Linked DNA regions of Homo sapiens: all the other regions are linked to region 1. Evidence: promoter capture Hi-C in 16 types of primary human blood cells and fetal thymus (Javierre and others, 2016). All regions are on one chromosome and are shown on one strand. Each heading gives the region's core, a stretch centred on a gene start or on the middle of the fragment in contact. The rest is flanking DNA. Distances are from core to core; before and after follow the strand shown.

Region 1 (3,132 bases), core at 356-2,855:
CCACCAGCCAAACTCTTCTGACTTTCTATAAATGCAAATGGGAACCCCCTCACTCCTGGGTCCAGGCCCCTACAATTTGCCTTGGGTGGGAGGCTGGGAAGCACTGGACACAAGAAAGTATCTTGAGCACAAGCAACGTCACCCCGGGGATTCCCTGCCTCCACCACTGACTGGGCACCCAGGCATCTTGGCCTGGAACAAGAGAGTGGTCTTAGCAGGAAACATGTCCTAGCAGTAAAGATACAGCCCAACAGCCCCTTCCACCGCCCTTGTGAGAGCTGGTCATTTGGCTTGAGTGGCCAGGTGAGGGCAGGATGAAAGCACCTCTCGGCAGGTGGATACCTAATGTGAAGCCCTTTCCTGTCAGTTCCTCCTGCTGAAAAAGCAGCCAACACAACTGTGTGATGGAGAAAGGGGGCAAGAAGCCCTCCTGACCTCAGGGCAAGAAGGCTGACTTCAAAGCACTTGGCCACTGGGCTAGGCGCCCAACATGCCCCAAACCTCTGCCCAGCCTTCTGTTACCCCTCTTCTAGGCCACGGGGGGCGGCCCCTCCCCTCCCAGAGCCTGCATGCCTTGACCTCGACTTTTTGCAACCTGCAATGTGGAGAAGTCGGGAGGAGGCCACGGGGTGAACATTCGCCCCAGACCTGATGTGGGGCAGTGAGGCCTCACCCTGCCCAGTTTGCACTCAGTCAGGTCGTGTTCAGCTGCTCCTATGCACGCCCCTACACACACAACTCCAACCCGCAAACACACACACACACACGCACACGCCCTCTCAAACTTTAATGCACCCTTGAGTCTCCCGGGGACGTCAAACGCACACTCCAGGACTCCACTCCAAAGACTGCTTCAGAGCAGCTGGATTCTGCATTGGCACAAGCTTCCCCAGGTGAGTCTGATGCAGGTGGCCCGTGGGCCACACTCTGAGAAACGCTGCCACAGGAACCTGTCTGGGTTCCCAGATTCTGGGGCTCAGGTCCTCACCGTCCTCCCCGGGGGCCAACACTCCACCCACGTCCCCCACACAAAGGCAAAGAAGGGGCCTGGGGAGTGGGTCAGGGTCGCGCTGGCCCGGCGCCAGAGGCAACTCCCTCGCGGCGGCGGACGCAGGGTGGGGCGGGACGGGATGGGGGCTGGAGGGGTCCCACTCACAGGGAGCTGATGTCGCCCGGCACGATCCTGGGCACCCAGGAAGAGCCCACGCAGATGATAGACTCCTTGGTACAGCTGCAAGTGGCGGGGCAGCGCGCCAGCCGCCTCACCTGCGCGCTCCGCGGTATCAGGCACGCGGCGCCCAGCAGCAGCAGCAGCAGCCCGAGCGCTCCGCAGCCGCCTCTCCGCAGCGCCATGCCCGGTCCCCGCTCCCCGCCCGGGCCCCGACCCCCACCGCCGCGCCGCGCGCTCGGACCCGGCGCCGCTGCAGACGCGGGCGCCGCTCGCTGCTCTGCCGCCGCCGCTGCTGGCGAGGACTAGGGAGCCGCGGGTGTGGGAGGCCGAGCCGCAGCCGAGCAGCATGCTGGCCGCCACCCCCACTCGGCGCCCCCCCACCCGAGCCCGGGCTGCTGGGCGGCCGCCGCCGCTGCGCCCGCCGCACTCGCGCCTGCCTGACATCAGCACTCGCGCCCGCAGCCCGGCTCTGGCCAATGAATAATGCATGGCGGGGCCCGCCCCGCGGGGGAGGGGGCCAGCGCCGGCCCCGTGGCGCCCCACCCGGCCCCCACCTCGCCACCCCCTCTCGCCCCGGGCCGGGCGCGGGGACAGAGGGAAAAGTTGGGTGACCTTGGGGGAGGGGCCAAGCCTGGCGGAGACCCCCGTCGGGGCCTGACTGAGCGGTGGAGGATCCGATGCCTGCAATACCTCCAGGGGTATAATCTGGGGAGGGCACTGGGTTCCTTTCAGGCAAATCAATAAAGTCGGAGCGGGGAGTGTGGAGAACCGGCTTGATTACTGGGGAGGGAGGCAGCCCTGGGTGCTTTGAAGAGGAGAGACTTTGGAGCAGCCTTTATTAATTTTGAAGTGCATGCTGCCGGTAGGGTCAGCGAGGATGGCTTTGCTTGTCTTCTGCGGTGGGGCAGTGAGGTCTGGCTCTCGCTCCCACAGCACCAGGGGTTACTGAAGCCAGCCAGTCCTCCCATGGGAGGAACGTGGGGAAGCAAAGCCGCTGCAGCCTGCACGCCCGGCGCTCTGGGCCCTGCCTGCTGCCTGCTAAAGAGCTGGAAAGCCCGGGAAAGTTTCCCCTCGCTCAGCTGCCCACGGGTCACCCCACCCGCCCCAGTCAGAGGAGGGTTTGTAGAGATTGAGGGTGTGATACATTCTAGCCACTGTACTTTTAATCTTCTAACCTTTTGAGGCAGGTCCTACTTATATCCTTAATTTATTGATGAGGCTGCTGACGCCCAGAAAGCATCCTGACTGGCTGATGGTCCAGCAGCTCCTGGCTGGGCAGGATGGGGCTCGGAGCCTTGAAGGGCTACCTTAACTGGGCCCTCCTGAGCCCCTCTTCAACTCCTTAAGTTTGAAGCAATGAGCGGAAATCTTAACACAGGTAATGTGCGGCTGAGGAAATCAAAGAAAATGACCAAAGCGGAAACAAAGTAATGGCTAATAACCTGAACTGCTGGGAGAAGGGAATCACAGCACGACTGTCGAGCTGCAAACCAAGGAAAAGCATGCCAGATGCTAAAACCTACTCAGAAAAGTCAGTATCGAATGCAAAAGTAGGAATCATACTATTGCTTCTTCAGCAATTATTGTTGGTGATCCATTGACAAGATCCATGAGGACGGTATCAGGCTGGCTGCTGTGGGAGGGAACAAAGGAACAGCTCCTGTCCTCAGGGAGCTAAAAGTCTAGCTGGACAGACAACCCTAAAAGAGCAACTCCACTGGCTACAAGGGGGTCACAGACTGACCAAAAGAGGTTCAGGAATTGAAAGAGAGCTTTGCGTAGGCAACTTCATGGAGGGAGTTAGACATTCCCTGCTGGTGACTATGTAAAAAGCACCTGGCATCAGTACAAACCAGCCTGCATTTATCATCATTTAATTCTTGCATCTGTCCTGAGAAATGGGTCCTCCCATTTTATGGATGGGAACATTGAGCTCAGAGAAGTTTTTATCTTGTCCAAGA
Region 2 (3,132 bases), core at 244-2,743, 500 kb before region 1:
AAATAGTTGAGGGCTAATTGTAATGGGACAAAAAAAATGTTAAAAAACAAAACAAAACAAAAAAAAACAGATTTCTGCAAGCAAGAAACAGTACTGACTTGAGAATCACAACAGCAAGAGAATGGCTCCAAAGAAACTCTAAAAATTAAAAAAATTAAAAAAAAACCCTTTTTTAAAAGTATGTCTGAGAGACAGGGTCTCACTGTCACCCAGGCTGGAGTACAGTGGCATGATCATAGCTCACTGCAACCTCAAACTCCTGGGCTCAAGCAATCCTCCTGCCCAGCTTCCCCAGTAGCTGGGACTATAGACGTGCAGCACCACCATGCCCAGCTAATTTTTGTACACACCTATATATCTTTTAGTAGAGATGGATTCTGGCTATATTGCACAGGCTGGTCTTGAACCCCTGGCTTCAAGTGATCCTCCCATCCTGGCCTCCCAGAGTCCTGGGATTACAGGTGTGAGCCACCATGCCCAGCCCCTGAAGAAACTTTTCATGCTATTCAAATGTAACTTCACATTTGGCTTCAAATCCTGCCCATAAATATCAACAATCCCACTGTCCACTTAACAAAGGAAGGGTGTGAAAGATTAATCACACCATCCAGTCAATTCCCTCATACCTACACACTGAAATATAAATTCTCAATGAGTGAATGCAAGGCCATGACTCTAGCAACAGTCAGGTTCCATTTTGAGCAAAGTACTAACAAAAAACTGTTAGAACAAAAGGTGTACTTACCATTCTGGCTTGATATCTGTACATGTCCGGATGTAATTCTTTGTTGTTAGAACAAACTCATTATAAAGCACCCATTCAGGTTTGTGGTCAAGAACAGTAGAGGGATGCAACTGAACCACCTGGTTATCTTTCACAGTTAAGTAATGCCCTGTTCGTTCTAAATGTGCCACCTGAAACCAAAACCCAGTATATTATTAATACAATGCTTCTGACTTGCTAGTTGTAAAGCTACCTACATAATTAGGAAGAGGCAGGCCTCCCTTTTACTTTTCATTCTATGGCTATACTTATTTATCACTGTCTGATAAAAGCAGAGATAAGCAAACTGCTGCCTGTGGGCCAAATCCAACTCATAGCCTCTATTTGTAAGGTCTGTGAATCCAAAATGGTTTATTTATCTTTAATTAGAAAGAAAAAATATCATACAAAAAACATTCCGTGAAGCATGAGTAGCATGTAAAATTCAAACTTCAGTATCCATAAGGAAAGTTTTATTAGAACACAGGCATGCCCATTTGTCTATACCTATTATGCTCCAAGAGCAGGCAGTGTTAGGTAGTTTTGACAAGGACTTCATGGGTCCACAGAGCCCAACATTTACTATCTGATCTTTCCTGCCTGAGACCATCTAGAGCAGGCTCTTCAGCACTGGGCGCCAACTATGAGCAGACAATTACCAGAACATTCATGTCTAAGGTAGAAAACTAAAGCCAGGTGCAGTAATCCCAGCACTTTGGGAGGCTGAGACAGGCAGATCACCTGAGGTCAGGAGTTCGAGACCAGCCTGGCCAACACGGTGAAACCTCATCTCTACTAAAAGTACAAAAATTAGACAAGCGTGGTGGCGGGTGTCTGTATCCCAGCTACTCAGGAGGCTGAGGCAGGAGAATTGCCTGAACCCAGGAGGCGGAGGTTGCAGTGAGCTGAGATCAAGTCACTGCACTCCAGCCTGGGCGACAGACCGAGAGGCTCCATTTCAAAAAAGAAAATAAAGAAATAGAATAAAAAATAAGGTAGAAAACTAAAGAGGGCAAAGAGGAAAAGAAAAAGGTAACCTACAAAGACAGGAAAATAAAAATGGGAAAAAAAAAAGAGCTTGCACGTGCTTCCCTCTCATTTCTTTTTTTGGTAACACCTTGACTGGTGATACTCATCAAAATGGACAGTTCTCCCTTTCCAATTCTAATATTCTGTGCTTAAAGAATGAGCATGAATAATAGAAAAGAAACTCAATTTCATTCGAAATATTTACTAAACACCTATTAGGTGTCAGGTACTATAATGCATGCTGTTTCTAATAAATTTTTTGTTTGTTTTTAAAAAGAGATAGGGTTTTCCTATGTTGCCTGGGCTGGCTTCAACGCTCCTTGCTCTCCACTCAACTTCTCTAGTAGCTAGGACTACAAGCACACTCTGTGGTGCCTAGCTGTTTGTAACAAATTTTAATCTACATAATTAAGAAGTATAATGCTTGAATATAGTTTCATCAATTTTTTTTTTTTTTTTGAGACGGAGTCTCGCTCTGTCGCCCAGGCTGGAGTGCAGTGGCGCTATCTCGGCTCACTGCAAGCTCTGCCTCCCAGGTTTACGCCGTTCTCCTGCCTCAGCCTCCCGAGTAGCTGGGACTACAGGCACCCGCCACCGCGCCCGGCTAATTTTTTGTATTTTTAGTAGAGACGGGGTTTCACCATGTTAGCCAGGATGGTCTCGATCTCTTGACCTCGTGATCCACCCGCCTCGGCCTCCCAAAGTGCTGGGATTACAGGCGTGAGCCACAGCGCCCGGCCAGTTTTTTTCTGAAATATAAAAAGCAAATTTAAGAACATGTCAACCCAGGCCTGGTGGCTCACGTCTGTAATCTCAGCACTTTGGGAGGTCGAGGTAGGAGGATCATTTGAAGCCAGAAGTTCAAGATCAGCCTGGGCAACGTGGCGAGGCCCTCTCTCTACACACACAAAAAGGCAAAAATTAGCTAGGCATAGTGGTGCGTGCCTGTAGTCCCAGGAACTCAGGAGTCTGAGGTGGGAGGATCACCAGAGCCCAGGGAGGTAAAAGCTGCAGTGAGCCGTGATTGCACCACTGCACTCCAGCCTGGGAGTGAGACATTGCCTCCCTCACCCCATCCCCTCCCCCTAAAAAAGAACAGAACATGTCAAAGAGAAGCCAGTACAACATATCAAATATTAAGAATATAGTTAAGAGTTTCAAGAAAGAATGCTCATACCTATCATTCACCAAACTCTAATAAGCCTATTATATAATAAGATGCCACAATAAACACTGTGTTACTTAGATTCAAATACAGACATCTCACCAATCTCCTTTGATTTTTGATTCTGAAACTGAGTGTCCTCAGGCTCATATTCTAGCTACTGAGCCCATCTGGC
Region 3 (3,132 bases), core at 387-2,886, 480 kb before region 1:
GGCCCCCACAGGGTCAGGATCATCAATATCACTATCTTCCACCTTAACGTATTAACCCACTGGAAGGTCTCCAAAGGCCAGTAACACACATGGAGCTGTCATCTCCTGTGATAACAATGCCTTCTCCTAGAACACCTCCTGAAGGACCTGCCTAAGCCTGTTTTACAGTTAACATTTTTAAGTCGAAGGAGAACACTCTAAAATAATGATAAAACATGTAGTATAGTAAATACAAAAACCACTAACAATGTCCTATTATCATTATTATTATGTACTGGACATAATTGTACATACTATATAGTACTTTTAAAACAACTGGCAGCAAAGTAGGTTTGTTTGAACTAGCATCATCACAAAGCAGTGAGTAATGTGTTGTGCTGTGATGCTGCAAGGTTACGTTCAGCTCCACTATAATCTTACGGGAGCAGCACCACAGCTATCTGAGAAGTTTGTCTTGACCAAAACGTTGTTATGTGGCACATGACTATATTCTAACACATGTGCATTCAAGAGGAGACATAATGAATATCAAGACGGAAAAAAAGAGAGAGACAGATTATGTATGATAGCTCTGGGAGAGGCAAAGGAACTTAAAAATGGAAGGCAGCACTGCGGACAAATGTATTCTAAATTTTATTGAAGTATTAATTCAATTAAACCCAGAAGTATGTAAAACGCTTATTATACACTAGGCAGCCTGTCCAATAAATGACCCAATCAGAAGCTACCCTTGTCAACAAAGTGCGTGTTTTTTTCAAAGGACAATGATACTAAACGGTGAGGAAGAATTTTAGGACATTTACTTTATATTTTTTTAATGTCCAACTGTGTCTCTATATCAAAAAACACAACGTTCTTAAACACAGTAAGAACAAATAAATTACTTTTCACTTATTTCAAACACATCAGTTTTTTTTAAAGGTTATCTGTCTCAAAAATTGTGACACAGAAAACTATTAAAGATTCAATGTTACTAGATCCTCCTTTGAAATCTCAAGTTTCTAAAAGAAAATGAAAGTAGATGCTATTCATCTAAATAAAAAATATAACAAAGCGAACAAATATTTTTTGAAAATACTGCTTTCAAATGTTGTATCTAGATTAGAATGCCCCCTGCTGGCATGCAAATAAAAAATTAAGAGCTCTCCAACTTAAAAAACATTTGAACATAATATAAAACTAGGATTCCAACATTTAAGAGTATCTGCAATTTTGTTAATTTTACTGTACATAAATGAAAAATAAATGCTCAGAAATCACAAAATATCCAGATTTCACACATTAAAAATTAAGTGCTTAAATTAGACATTTGCTTTGTGATTCCAGTATTTTAAAATGACAATTCCAACTTTACTGGAGATTAGACTACCCAATCTGCTAAGTATGCAAGGAGCTAAAACAAAATGATGACTATGTAGGATATAAAGGCATCTCTAAAATGTGGAAGAAATCCCGTAACACTTAAGTTTTTAGATAAAGTCCTAAACAGCTTTAAAACTTGCAATAAAAATTTTCCCTGAGGTTTGCCAAACTTCCAAGAAGTCAACACTATCAGCTGAGAATGCCACAAAACTTATCTGCATTCATCAGAATATAAACAGAAACAGGTAGTGGAGGAAAAGAAGTTTCAACAGCAGCCATCTGCTTAGTCATTAGCAATACTGAGAATAAAGACAGACAGTTCAGGAGTTTTTGATTTGAGAAAAGATTTTTAACTCCAAAAGCAGCAATATGTTAGTAAATTAATCTGGACCTTACCAATTAACTCACTGCATGTTGAAAAAAAAATTTACTAAGCAAAATTAAAAATAAAATTATTTAATTACAATCACTCTTATCTAATTACTATCTAGGCAACACTTTAAACTGTTCTCTCTCCCTCCCAAATTAACTCATGTGACTACAGAAGCACTTTTATTTAGTGGTCAGAATATGTTCTTAAAAACCAGTTTTAAATTTTTATGAGATTACTCAATTTCATGGAGGCTATTCAAATTTATGAAGAAAGGAGTACTGATTTCGCAGTTGCATTTAACTTACCAAGTAAAAATAATGAAGGTTCACAAAAATGAGAAGGTAATATTTACTTTAGACCAGCTCTACTACTAAATACAACAAATGAAATGTAAACAAAACGTTAGGTTTTCTGCTACCTTCTCCCCAAAACTCTTCAAATTCAAGACTGGGAATCTAAAGATAACTTAAAGAAGCAATGGTATGCAAAAAAACAGCTGACAACTAGAGCAGCATTTTATTTCATGAAAGACACTCTAGCATACATCTGAAAACCCTTCGGCTTACTCCCTTCCTTTCCCCAGCTGTGGGATTCACAGAAAATACCGCACAAAGTTGTCTCAGAGAAAAACCTTTCGGGTCCTTAACCATGAGGCCATTTGATATTTCTGATAGAATCTCAATACGCTTATGTTATCTGAGAATGATGACAATTTTAAATAGTGATTTAAAAAATAAAAATATGGCCAGGTGCAGTGGCTCACGCCTGTAATCCCAGCACTTTGGGAGGCCGAGGCGGGTGGATCACCTGAAGTTGGGAGTTCAAGACCAGCCTGACCAACACGGAGAAACCCCATCTCTACCAAAAATACCAATTAGTTGGGCATGGTGGCGCATGCCTGTAATCCCAGCTACTCGGAAGGCTGAGGCAGGAGAATCACCTGAACCTGGGAGGCAGAGGTTGCGGTGAGCCGAGATCGCGCCACTGCACTCCAGCCTGGGCAACAAGAGCAAAACTCCATCTCAAATAAATAAATAATAAAACAAAATAAATAAAAATAAAAATATACTATGCACTTTGGAGGAAATGAGAAACTAGAGACCAGACACAAGAGGACAAAACGATTATCCCAACAGCCTCAATACTACATTACAGCACAAATGCTGTTTATATGCCATCAAAAAAGCATTTTGGGGCCAGGTGTGGTGGCTCGCGCCTATAATCCCAGCACTTTGGGAACCCGAGAAGGGCAGATCACCTGAGGTCAGGAGTTCGAGACTAGCCTGGCCAACATAGTGAAACCCCGTCTCTACTAAAAATTAAAAAAAAATTAGCCAGGTGTGATGGTGGGCACCTGTGATCCCAGCTACTTGGGAGGCTGAGGCAAGAGAATCGCT
Region 4 (3,132 bases), core at 224-2,723, 460 kb before region 1:
TCAATTATACTGTAATTACCAGTGATCAATAACGTATCACTGAACAACTACAAGAATTTATTCAGTGAAGATTAAGGTTTAAGCCAAAAATATGTCCCATAAAGTCATAAGGATAAGCTTATTTAAATATTTTAAAGTTCAACTGCTATTAAATATCACGCTGAATAAAAAGTTCTAATAAAATGAGATAAATCAAAGAATTAGAAAAAACTGACACAAATGTTGAATGAAAACTGGATATTTTGATCCAATAAATTGTTTTAAGTTATGATAGCTCTATTTTAAGAAACTATCTCAGAGATACACACTGAAATATTTATATATATAATTATTTGGTATCTAAGACTGCTTCGAAATAACATGGGACAGGGAAATAAATTAAGATTGGATATGAAATAAATAAGACTGAAATAGTTAAAAGTCGATGATAAACACATGCAGTTCATTATTCTATTCAATTTCTGCGGCTGGGTGTAGTGGCTCACGCCTGTAATCCCAGCACTGTGGGAGGCTGAGGCGGGCGGATCATGAGGTCAGGAGTTAGAGACCAGCCTGGCCAACATAGTGAAACCACAACTCTACTAAAGATACAAAAAGTTAGCCAGGCATGGTGGCGCACACCTATAGTCCCAGCTACCTGAGAGGCTGAGGCAGGAGAATCGCTTGAACCCGGGAGGCGGAGGTTGCAGAGAGCCGAGATGGCGCCACTGCACTCCAGCCTGGGCAACAGAGTGAGACTCCATCTCAAAAAAAAAAAAAAAAAAAAAAAAGAGAGACTCTTGTTTCATTTATCCCATTAACACTATATATCTCTCTGACAACAAAGACTCTGACAACAAAGACTCATATCACTGCCTACACAACGCTCCAAAATGGTTTTTAAAAACCTCAGGGAGAAGATCACATAGATATGATTTTTCTTTTTTTTTAAAAGAAATGTGGTCTTGCTATGTTGCTCAGGTTCAAATGCAGTAGCTATCACAGGCATGATCAGAGCACACTGTAGCCTTGAACTCCTGGCCTCAAGCAATAATCCTGCTTCAGCCTACGAAGTGGCTGGGAATAAACAGGCATATGCCACTGAGCCCCACTCAAACAAGTCACATTTAAAAGGACTTAAATATCACATAAATACAGAATAAGCAGAAGCAACCAGAGGGAAGACTTGAGAAAGAATCATCATCAGGTAGCATACATCATAACTTATGCAGAATGCAAGTATAAGACAATAAAAAGTTGGTAGAGTTAAAACATTAGAAAGCTCAATACAGTAGTCAATTATCTGCACCATAGCTATAGAGGAACAAGGACCTAGAGGCAGCTCTAACAGTGTATTACAGAACAAAAGATTCCTCTTTTTAGCTTATAACAGATGCACGGTAATAGCTGCATAATTAACATTAAAAGTCCCCTCTCCCCTAAATAAATCACATCCCATCCTATACATTCTTCTTTCTAAAAGTAGTTATCTTTTACTAAGTAAGACATATCACTTTCCTTTTCTTTCACAATTAAGTCATACACCATTGTGTCTACTAAAACCACACATTTTACAGTATCAGTAACATTTCACCTAAAATGCAGAACCAAGTAACTAAAATCTGACCTTTGAACTTCAATTTCTACCAAGTAACTATAGATTACCAATAATATATAATTAAACTAAGGTCATGTGGTAAGTCTAAGAAGGCCTACTTTGGATAATTCTAAATTTGGATGACATAAGCCTGCACTAGCAAAGTCTTCTATCTAATAGCAGAAAATGGCAAGCAGAGGACTAAAAGCGTCATTAAAGATATAGTACTTACTTAAGAATGGTTTTTGCACTACTGCAGTCTTCAAATCGAATGGAGTAACCAACTTCCTGGCCCAACATCACATCCATCTCATCAGCAACTCTCTGAGCCACACTCATTGCAGCCACTCTCCTGGGTTGGGTACAGGCAACTCCTCTCTTGGGTCCTGGTAATGATCGCATGTACTCCACACACCACTGTGGAATCTATCAAATAATTTCACATTTAAATTAATTCTATTCTGCCTGCATATCAAGTATATGTAACATAAAGCACTTTATCTCATTCTAATGATTTAAAACCAAATCCAATTAGGCAAATGACTATAAGACTTGTGATTCAAAACTTGTAACAACACAAGCTCTCTAAACCAAGGAACAGTTATGTGTAATACTGATATGACACACACCCAAGTTGGGTAGACACAATCAGGAATACACTCGACAGTGTGACTATCCCATCATGAAGTATTTCTCTATGCAATTTTAAAAAATCCAACTTACAACAAATTCTACTTTATAACAAACGTTTCTAAGAAAGTGTAACTTTTAAATTCTTACATAATTTGAGTTGCAAAATCAAGTGGAAATCATACCCCCTTGTAACTCTGAAGCTGTACTTTTATTTAATTCAATTCAAATTTGGTTTATAAGCCAGCAGAACCTAACTCTTAGCACCCAACTCTTTTGTAATCCTATCCTTTCCCCCTCAGGAGCAGTATGCACAATGGTAGCACCTTAGGTACCATCTTAAAATCAATTTTAAGAACTGCCAGTCTCAAATTTAACAGGACCTAGAGCAGCACCACTTCGTTAAGGGCAGCCAAAGGGTTGGGGGACCCCCAAGCACAAGTTAAATTGGTTGCCATGACGGCAGTACATTTTCCCCCAGTTCCATTATCAATATAAGCTAATGGATTCCCCAATTTTACAGTTTTCCAGTCACTTAACTGGAAAAGAACCATGGGAAAAATGTAAGTGCTCACCATATTATATGGAAATCCACTGCTAGAAGAGCATAACTGGTTTACATCAAAGCTTCCAAACGCCTATCAAACTCTAATGCTACAGGAAACATGGAGTTTTCTGCACAGTATCAGTACAGTAAAACTGATAAGGAATATTGGTGGCTGCACTATTATTACATTTTAGTTAGGTTGCTTCTGCAATTGGGGGTAACTTGTCACTAACAAATATCTGAAAGGGAGGGTAATTATGCTGATTCTCTAAAATCATATATATCTTTAAAACACTTTAAATGAACAAAAATAACTAAAGAAGTAGTATCTATCGGGTTCTGTAAATCCACAGACCTAGGTTTAAGTGGTTTTCTAGTC
Region 5 (3,132 bases), core at 399-2,898, 430 kb before region 1:
ATACCATTTATCAATTAGAATTGTTCTACCAGAGGTCAGGTAAATGAGGTGAAATACCTTACATCTGGGCATTAATGTTGCTAAGGAAAAAGGAAATAAGCTAACTTGGCAATGCACTGCCAAGTCTGTCCTGACTCACAAGGGGAGGAAGAGAAAGCCTTTGAAACCCAATTTAATGAATAGTTAATGAATACCCTAAACCCCATAGTGGCTACTGCCGCAGCTCAGGAAAGAGAGGGAATGCTACCCATAGAGTACAGGAAGGCAGCAGGGCTACTGTCTCCCTCTAGGACTAGGCAAGGTACTAATTTTGGCCAGGGAGTCACTGAGTCTGGAGCAGGGAAGTTCCCACTGTAACAATATTCAGTAGGAGTCAATTAGCAAGGAGCTCCAGCCAACATTATTGGGCCTATAATACCACTGTATTTGCTACACAGTGCCCACCTGGGCAGATGTGCAGGCTCTCCTAAGCATTATGCTCACTGCAGATGAGCGGCAGCTGGTTTTCAATAAAGTGAAGGAAGAGGCGCAATGACTTCATCATGAAAATTCAGACAACACAGATCCGGGGGCGGCAATTCCCCACAGGGACCCTAATTGGGATATTGTAGAGGACATACATCCCACTGTAGCTAACCCATATACTAAGTTCATTTCTCTTCCTGGAGATTATAAATGGCTGACAGTATTGGATTTAAAAGATGCTTTCTTTTGCATACCCATAGACACAGAAAGTCAACTGTTGTTTGCCTTTGAATGGATAGATCTTGAAGCCGCAACGTGGTTTCAGTATCATTGGACTGCACTCCCACTAGGATTTAAAAACTCTCCACATATATTTGGGGAAGCCTTGGCTTGAAATTTAAAGAGTTTAAAATTGGAAAATGGGGTATTGTTACAATATGTGGGTGATTTACTAATACCTAGCCTCTCTGAATGGGAATGTCAGAATAACACCATTAAAACTCTTAACCACCTAGCCACCCGTGGGTATAAGGTTTCAAGTAAAAAAGCTTAGATATGCCAACAAACTGTGGCATACTTAGATTTTCTCTTGCAGGAGGGAGCTAGAGCTCTAATAGTGGAAAGACAAAATGCAATCGCTTCCATTGCAGCACCCACTACCAGAAGGTAGTTGAGAGGATTTCTAGGCAAGGCAGGGTTTTGTTAGATCTGGATTCCTAACTATGAACTACCAATGAAGCCGCTATACAGTCTGTTAAGGGACCTAACAATGATGCCTTCGATTGGGAGCAAAACACCAGCACTCATTTGGACAACTGAAATGTAAGTTAACCTCCACCCTATTCCTGGGGCTCCCAAATCCTCATAAGCCTTTTCAATTGTACATGCATGAGAGACTGGGTCTAGCACTGGGGATCCTTAACACAGAAATTAGGAGAAATCTTGCAGCCACTAGGCTTACTTTCCTAAACAACTGGATAATGTGGCCAAAGGCTGTCTCCTGTTCAAGGGCGGTCACTGCCACCTGCCTACTATTAAAGGAGGCTGAAAAGTTGACTTTGGGACAGCCTGTTACTGTCTACGTGCCTCACCAAGTACTAGTGTTACTAGAACAAAAGGGAGGCTACTGGCTGACAGTGGGCAGATTGAGCAAATACCAGGCCACACTCCTAGATGAACCCACAGTAAAAGTGCAGGTTACCAGAGCCTTGAACCCAGCTACTTTACTTCCCTCTACCGAAGAGCCAAAAGAACTTATGCATAATGTTTACCAATTATTGACTAAGGTGTTTTCCAGTCACCCTAATTTAAAGGACACAGCCCTGCCATATGCATACTGGACATTGTTCATGGATGGGAGCAGCCTGGTAACCGACAGAAAAAGAAATGCTATATATGTAATGGTAACGTTTTCAGAGGTCACAGAAGCCAGGACTTTACCACTAGGAACCTCTGCACAGAAGGCAGAACTGATTGCCCTTACAAGAGCCTGCAGTTGTTCCAGGTAAACAAGGCACTTGGAATAAATTGCAGACTATACTCAGCATGGAGACCACAGTCTTCTGGACAGACTGAAAGGAAAATCCAGCACTAAAAACAGTTATTGCCAAACTGTGCCAGGAAACTCAACCAAAATGAATTCAGGTACTTGGCATTGCATTGCTCTGGGTAAGAATGACCTCCCCAGATGTGGGATTAGGTTAAGTCCTGTGAAATGATACATGAGAGACCCTTTTGGGTTACTAGGGTGCCCCTTAATAAGAAGTCAACTATTAAACATTGTGTTACTCACTTGGGACAAATTCGTAACGTTTTGCATAAGCTTGCTTTCAACAACAGCATTGTGAACTCAGCAGAGCCACGCCACTCTTTCCAGTCCCGTGATCAAGTACTGCTAAAGAGTAGATGGGAACGGGCCCAACTCAGCAGCTACAGGAGAAATGGAAAGGGCCCTACTGGTGCTGCTAACTGCCAATTTCAGCACTGAAACTGGCGGGCATCAAGCCATGGATCCACTACACATTGTAAAAAAGTTCCTGCCAAAATAAATGTTCATAACAGAGGTCCCCAAGATAGCCAAATAGGAGGCAGAACCCCTCAAAGTCCTAAGATTTCTGTACAAAAAAGATAGGATTTTTTAAATAATATTTTTTCTTACTACATCTTTTGTTGTTTCTTTCTATACTCCTAACCTTTTCCTATGATGGTGTATTAGTTCAGATTCACACTGCTTTAAAGATACTACCTGAGACTAGGTAAAAGGAAAGATGTTTAATTGACTCACAGTTCTGTATGGCTGGGGAGGCCTCGGGAAACTTACAATCATGGCAGAAGGTGAAGGGCAAGCAAGCGTGTTCTTCACAAGGTGGCAGGAGAAAGAGAGCAAGCAATTCCCACACTTTAAAACCATCAGCTCCTGTGAGAACTCACTCACCATCATGAGAACAGCATGGAGAAAATCACCCCCATCATCTAATCACCTCCCATCAGGTCCCTCTCTCGACACATGGTGATTTCAACTGGAGATGAGATTTGGGTGAGGGCATTGAGCCAAACCATATCAAATGGGCACAAGATTATGCAGATAGATTACAACAAGACTCGTGCTGGGTCTGTGGTCTATTACCCCTCTCTATCACCAAGGCACTGCTTTGGTGGGCCTCCCCT
Region 6 (3,132 bases), core at 440-2,939, 400 kb before region 1:
AAACAAACCAATAAAACACAGTAGTCAGTGTTACAGGATTCTGGGAAACCAGCTCATCTGCAATCAGTTCCTTATCTCATTTCCCTGCATAACCTGCACCTCTAGGTACGAGATGATTGAAGAGGACACTGCACCATTGTGTAAGAAACTTCTAAAGCTGCGTCATTAACAATGAGAAGGAATGATGGAGTCAAAATATCACCACTGTGCAAGTCTTGACAAATCAGTGGATATAGGTGTGCTAAACAACAAAGAGAGATGATCAGACTTTCCATGTCACCTTCTATGACAAATATTTGCCTGAAAATTGAACCTGAGTCTGATCAAAGCTCTAGATCTAACCACCAACATCCAGGAACTACAGGAGACAAAAGAATACATTAAATGACACCACAGAGGTACAATTATCAAAATTCAGGTTAGGAAAATGCTGCCGGACAACCTGTTTTCTTCAGTAAATTGCAAGAAAACACATAACGAAGGAGGTGTCAACAGATTAAAAAAGATTTAAACACCTATCACTACCAACTGAAATTTATAGCCTATTTAGATCCTAAGTCTAAAAAATAAATTAAACTATCCTGAGACAATTGGGGAAATTTAAGCAGTGACTAGATATTTAATCATATCAAGAAATTATTGCTAATTTTTAAGATATAATAAATGTTAAGAAAGAAAGACTAAAATTTTTACAGATTGAAAAACTAATAATATTCCCCTAAATAAATATAGCAAAATTCCATGTATTATCCTAATAGTTCTCTTTTTGGGGGGTAGAATGCGTTGGATAAAATTATTTTAAAAGCCACATGGAAATGTAAGTGCCTGAATAACAAAGAAAATATGCAGAAGATAAATAATGAGAGACTTGCCTTCAACTGAAAGCCACTGTAATAAAAATCACTGGAATACAATCAACGTGGTATTGGCATAAGAGTAGACAAATCAGTGGAACAGAAGAGTGGATCCAAAAATAGATCTCAGTATATATCATAATTTAATATGTGACAAAGGTAGTATTTCAATTCTGTGGGAAAGAATGGCTTACTTAATAAGTATTGCTGGCATAACTGCCTATTCTTCTGGAGCAAAATGAACTTGTATCTCAATTTCACAACAAATCCAAAAATAAATTCCAAATGGATTAAAAACATAAATGTAAACAATAAGTTTAAAAAAAATATTTAGGTGACTACATGCAAATCTAGGGGACAGAGAACATCTTTTAAACTAAAACCAGAAACCTGGAAAGTATAAAAGGTAGACATATTTGATTACATAAAAATTTCAAACCTTTATATGGTGAAAGGTACCCAAACAAAGTCAAGAGTCAAAATGCATTTAGAAAAATATGTACAATGTAGATAACAGATATTGGGTTAATATTTCTTATATATAACAAATTCTTGCAAATTGATAAGAAAAAGATAAACCATTCCAATTTTTAAAAAGGTCAATAAGTATGAAAAAGGAAATAAACCGAATAGCAAATCCAAATGGCTGGTAAACATATGAAAAGGTACCCAACTCAGTGGCAGCCAGGGAATTGCAAATTAAAATAATAATGAGATATTACTCTACATGCAACAGATTGGCAGAAGTTAAAAAGAATGATATTATCTATTCCAATCTCATGCATTACTTGTGAAAATGTGAATTGTCACATTTTGAGAAAAACAAATGCCAAGCAGCATCCATTATAATAAAGAATCCTCATACCCTTTAACCCAATGATTGCACTCCTGGGATTGTAGTCAGTAAAAATAAAATAATCAATATGGAGAGCTATATGTAAAGTTGTTTATTGCAGAATTATAGTAACAAAAACCTAAAAACAAAGTCAATATACATCCATAAGGGAATGGCTGAATAAATGTGTGTGTATTTGCATCATAAAATACTATGCAGTTGGCCGGGTGTGGTGGCTCATGCCTGGAAACCCAGCTCTTTGGGAGGCTGAGGTAGGTGGATCATTTGAGCCCAGGAGTTCAAAACCAGCCTGGGCAACATAGCAAGACCTCGTCTCTACCAAAAATATAAAAATTAGCTAGGCATGGTGGTGCATGCCTATAGTTCCAGCTACTAGGGAGGCTGAGGTGGGAGGATCACTTGAGCCCAGGAGGTTGGGGCTGCAGAGAGCCATGAACACATCATTGCACTACAGCCTGGGTAACTGAGTGGGACCCTGTCTCAAAAAAAAAAATACTATGCAGTTACTAAGAAGAAGGAATTAGAACTACTGCATATGAATTAGAAGGATTGCTACAAGGTGTTGAGTGAGAAAGGCAAGATGCCAAGAATGGTGTATATTATGGTTTCCAGTAATAAACAGTATTCAGTCATGCATCACTTAAGGATGGGGATGCTTTCTCAAAATGCATTGTTAAGCAATTTTGTTGTTACGTGAATATCATAGAGTGTACTTACATCAACCTAGGTGGTAGAGGCTACTACTGCACACTTAGGCTATATGGTGTGGTCTGTGGCTCCTAGGCTACAAACTTGTATAACATGTTATTGTACTGAAAACTATAGATAATTGTAACACAACTGTGTACCTAAACATACAAAACGTACAGCAAAAATATGGCATTATAATTCTTTGTTTCTTTGGGGCCAGTGTTGTATATGTGGTTTGTCATTGACCGAAATGTGGTTATGCAGCACATGACTGTGTATGGATGAGTGTGTGTGTGTGTGTATGTATGTGTAAACATGTATATTTGTGTACAAACTTCTACTTATAATTACATGAGTTTGGGAAAAAAGTTTGGAATGCTCTACATTGGATTGTTAACAGGAATTTTGTCGAGTTGTGTGTGAGGGTGTGAGATTTGGGTAAAATCTGAAAGGAGAAGGGTAGAAGAAAAATTGGATCTAATTTTTTTAGCTACCATAATGATATTCTGTTAATATATTTACATATTAATATGTATATAATACATTATATGCATATATACCTAAAATATAATACACACGTATAATGTGTGTGTATATATATGATATAATATACATGAGAGGAGAAAAAGCTAGAGTTGAATCCATATCTGCATATTTGTAGAGATGCACATGATAAGGTGTTAAATTTAAAAAAGTAGTAATGTGTAAGTATGATTCTATTTTGTCAAAGCA

Evidence for each region. Contacts are between HindIII fragments. The CHiCAGO score rates a contact against its expected background, and 5 or more counts as called.
Region 2: a fragment that was not itself captured here is called in contact with the fragment with the promoter of LGI2 in region 1 in 1 of 17 cell types (M2 macrophages); the score reaches 6.7 in M2 macrophages.
Region 3: a fragment that was not itself captured here is called in contact with the fragment with the promoter of LGI2 in region 1 in 2 of 17 cell types (M2 macrophages and M1 macrophages); the score reaches 6.2 in M2 macrophages.
Region 4: a contact is called between a fragment that was not itself captured here and the fragment with the promoter of LGI2 in region 1, in 1 of 17 cell types (M1 macrophages). The highest score is 5.3, in M1 macrophages.
Region 5: a contact is called between a fragment that was not itself captured here and the fragment with the promoter of LGI2 in region 1, in 1 of 17 cell types (M1 macrophages). The highest score is 5.2, in M1 macrophages.
Region 6: a fragment that was not itself captured here is called in contact with the fragment with the promoter of LGI2 in region 1 in 1 of 17 cell types (M2 macrophages); the score reaches 6.9 in M2 macrophages.

What each region holds. Positions count from the first base shown.
Region 1 is chr4:25,029,341-25,032,472 of GRCh38, forward strand. It overlaps LGI2 (leucine rich repeat LGI family member 2), which reads right to left and starts at 1,606. Exons shown (of 8, transcript NM_018176.4): 1 at 1,157-1,606. The coding sequence starts at 1,353. LOC124900684 (a long non-coding RNA gene) reads left to right here and starts at 768. Exons shown (of 2, transcript XR_007058083.1): 1 at 768-893. The HindIII fragment of the contact is 5,840 bases long and covers 883-3,132 here.
Region 2 is chr4:24,528,856-24,531,987 of GRCh38, forward strand. DHX15 (DEAH-box helicase 15) reads right to left here. Exons shown (of 14, transcript NM_001358.3): 13 at 746-915. Among named protein-coding and RNA genes, the nearest start is that of MIR573, 10 kb to the left of the region's middle. The HindIII fragment of the contact is 5,077 bases long and covers 1-3,132 here.
Region 3 is chr4:24,550,563-24,553,694 of GRCh38, forward strand. All of the region lies in intron 5 of DHX15 (DEAH-box helicase 15), which reads right to left. Among named protein-coding and RNA genes, the nearest start is that of MIR573, 32 kb to the left of the region's middle. RefSeq lists an enhancer at 2,628-3,132. The HindIII fragment of the contact is 3,436 bases long and covers 1-3,132 here.
Region 4 is chr4:24,568,846-24,571,977 of GRCh38, forward strand. It overlaps DHX15 (DEAH-box helicase 15), which reads right to left. Exons shown (of 14, transcript NM_001358.3): 3 at 1,809-2,002. Among named protein-coding and RNA genes, the nearest start is that of DHX15, 14 kb to the right of the region's middle. The HindIII fragment of the contact is 2,716 bases long and covers 116-2,831 here.
Region 5 is chr4:24,601,156-24,604,287 of GRCh38, forward strand. No RefSeq gene overlaps it. Among named protein-coding and RNA genes, the nearest start is that of DHX15, 18 kb to the left of the region's middle. The HindIII fragment of the contact is 1,274 bases long and covers 1,012-2,285 here.
Region 6 is chr4:24,625,119-24,628,250 of GRCh38, forward strand. No RefSeq gene overlaps it. Among named protein-coding and RNA genes, the nearest start is that of LINC02473, 33 kb to the right of the region's middle. The HindIII fragment of the contact is 7,679 bases long and covers 1-3,132 here.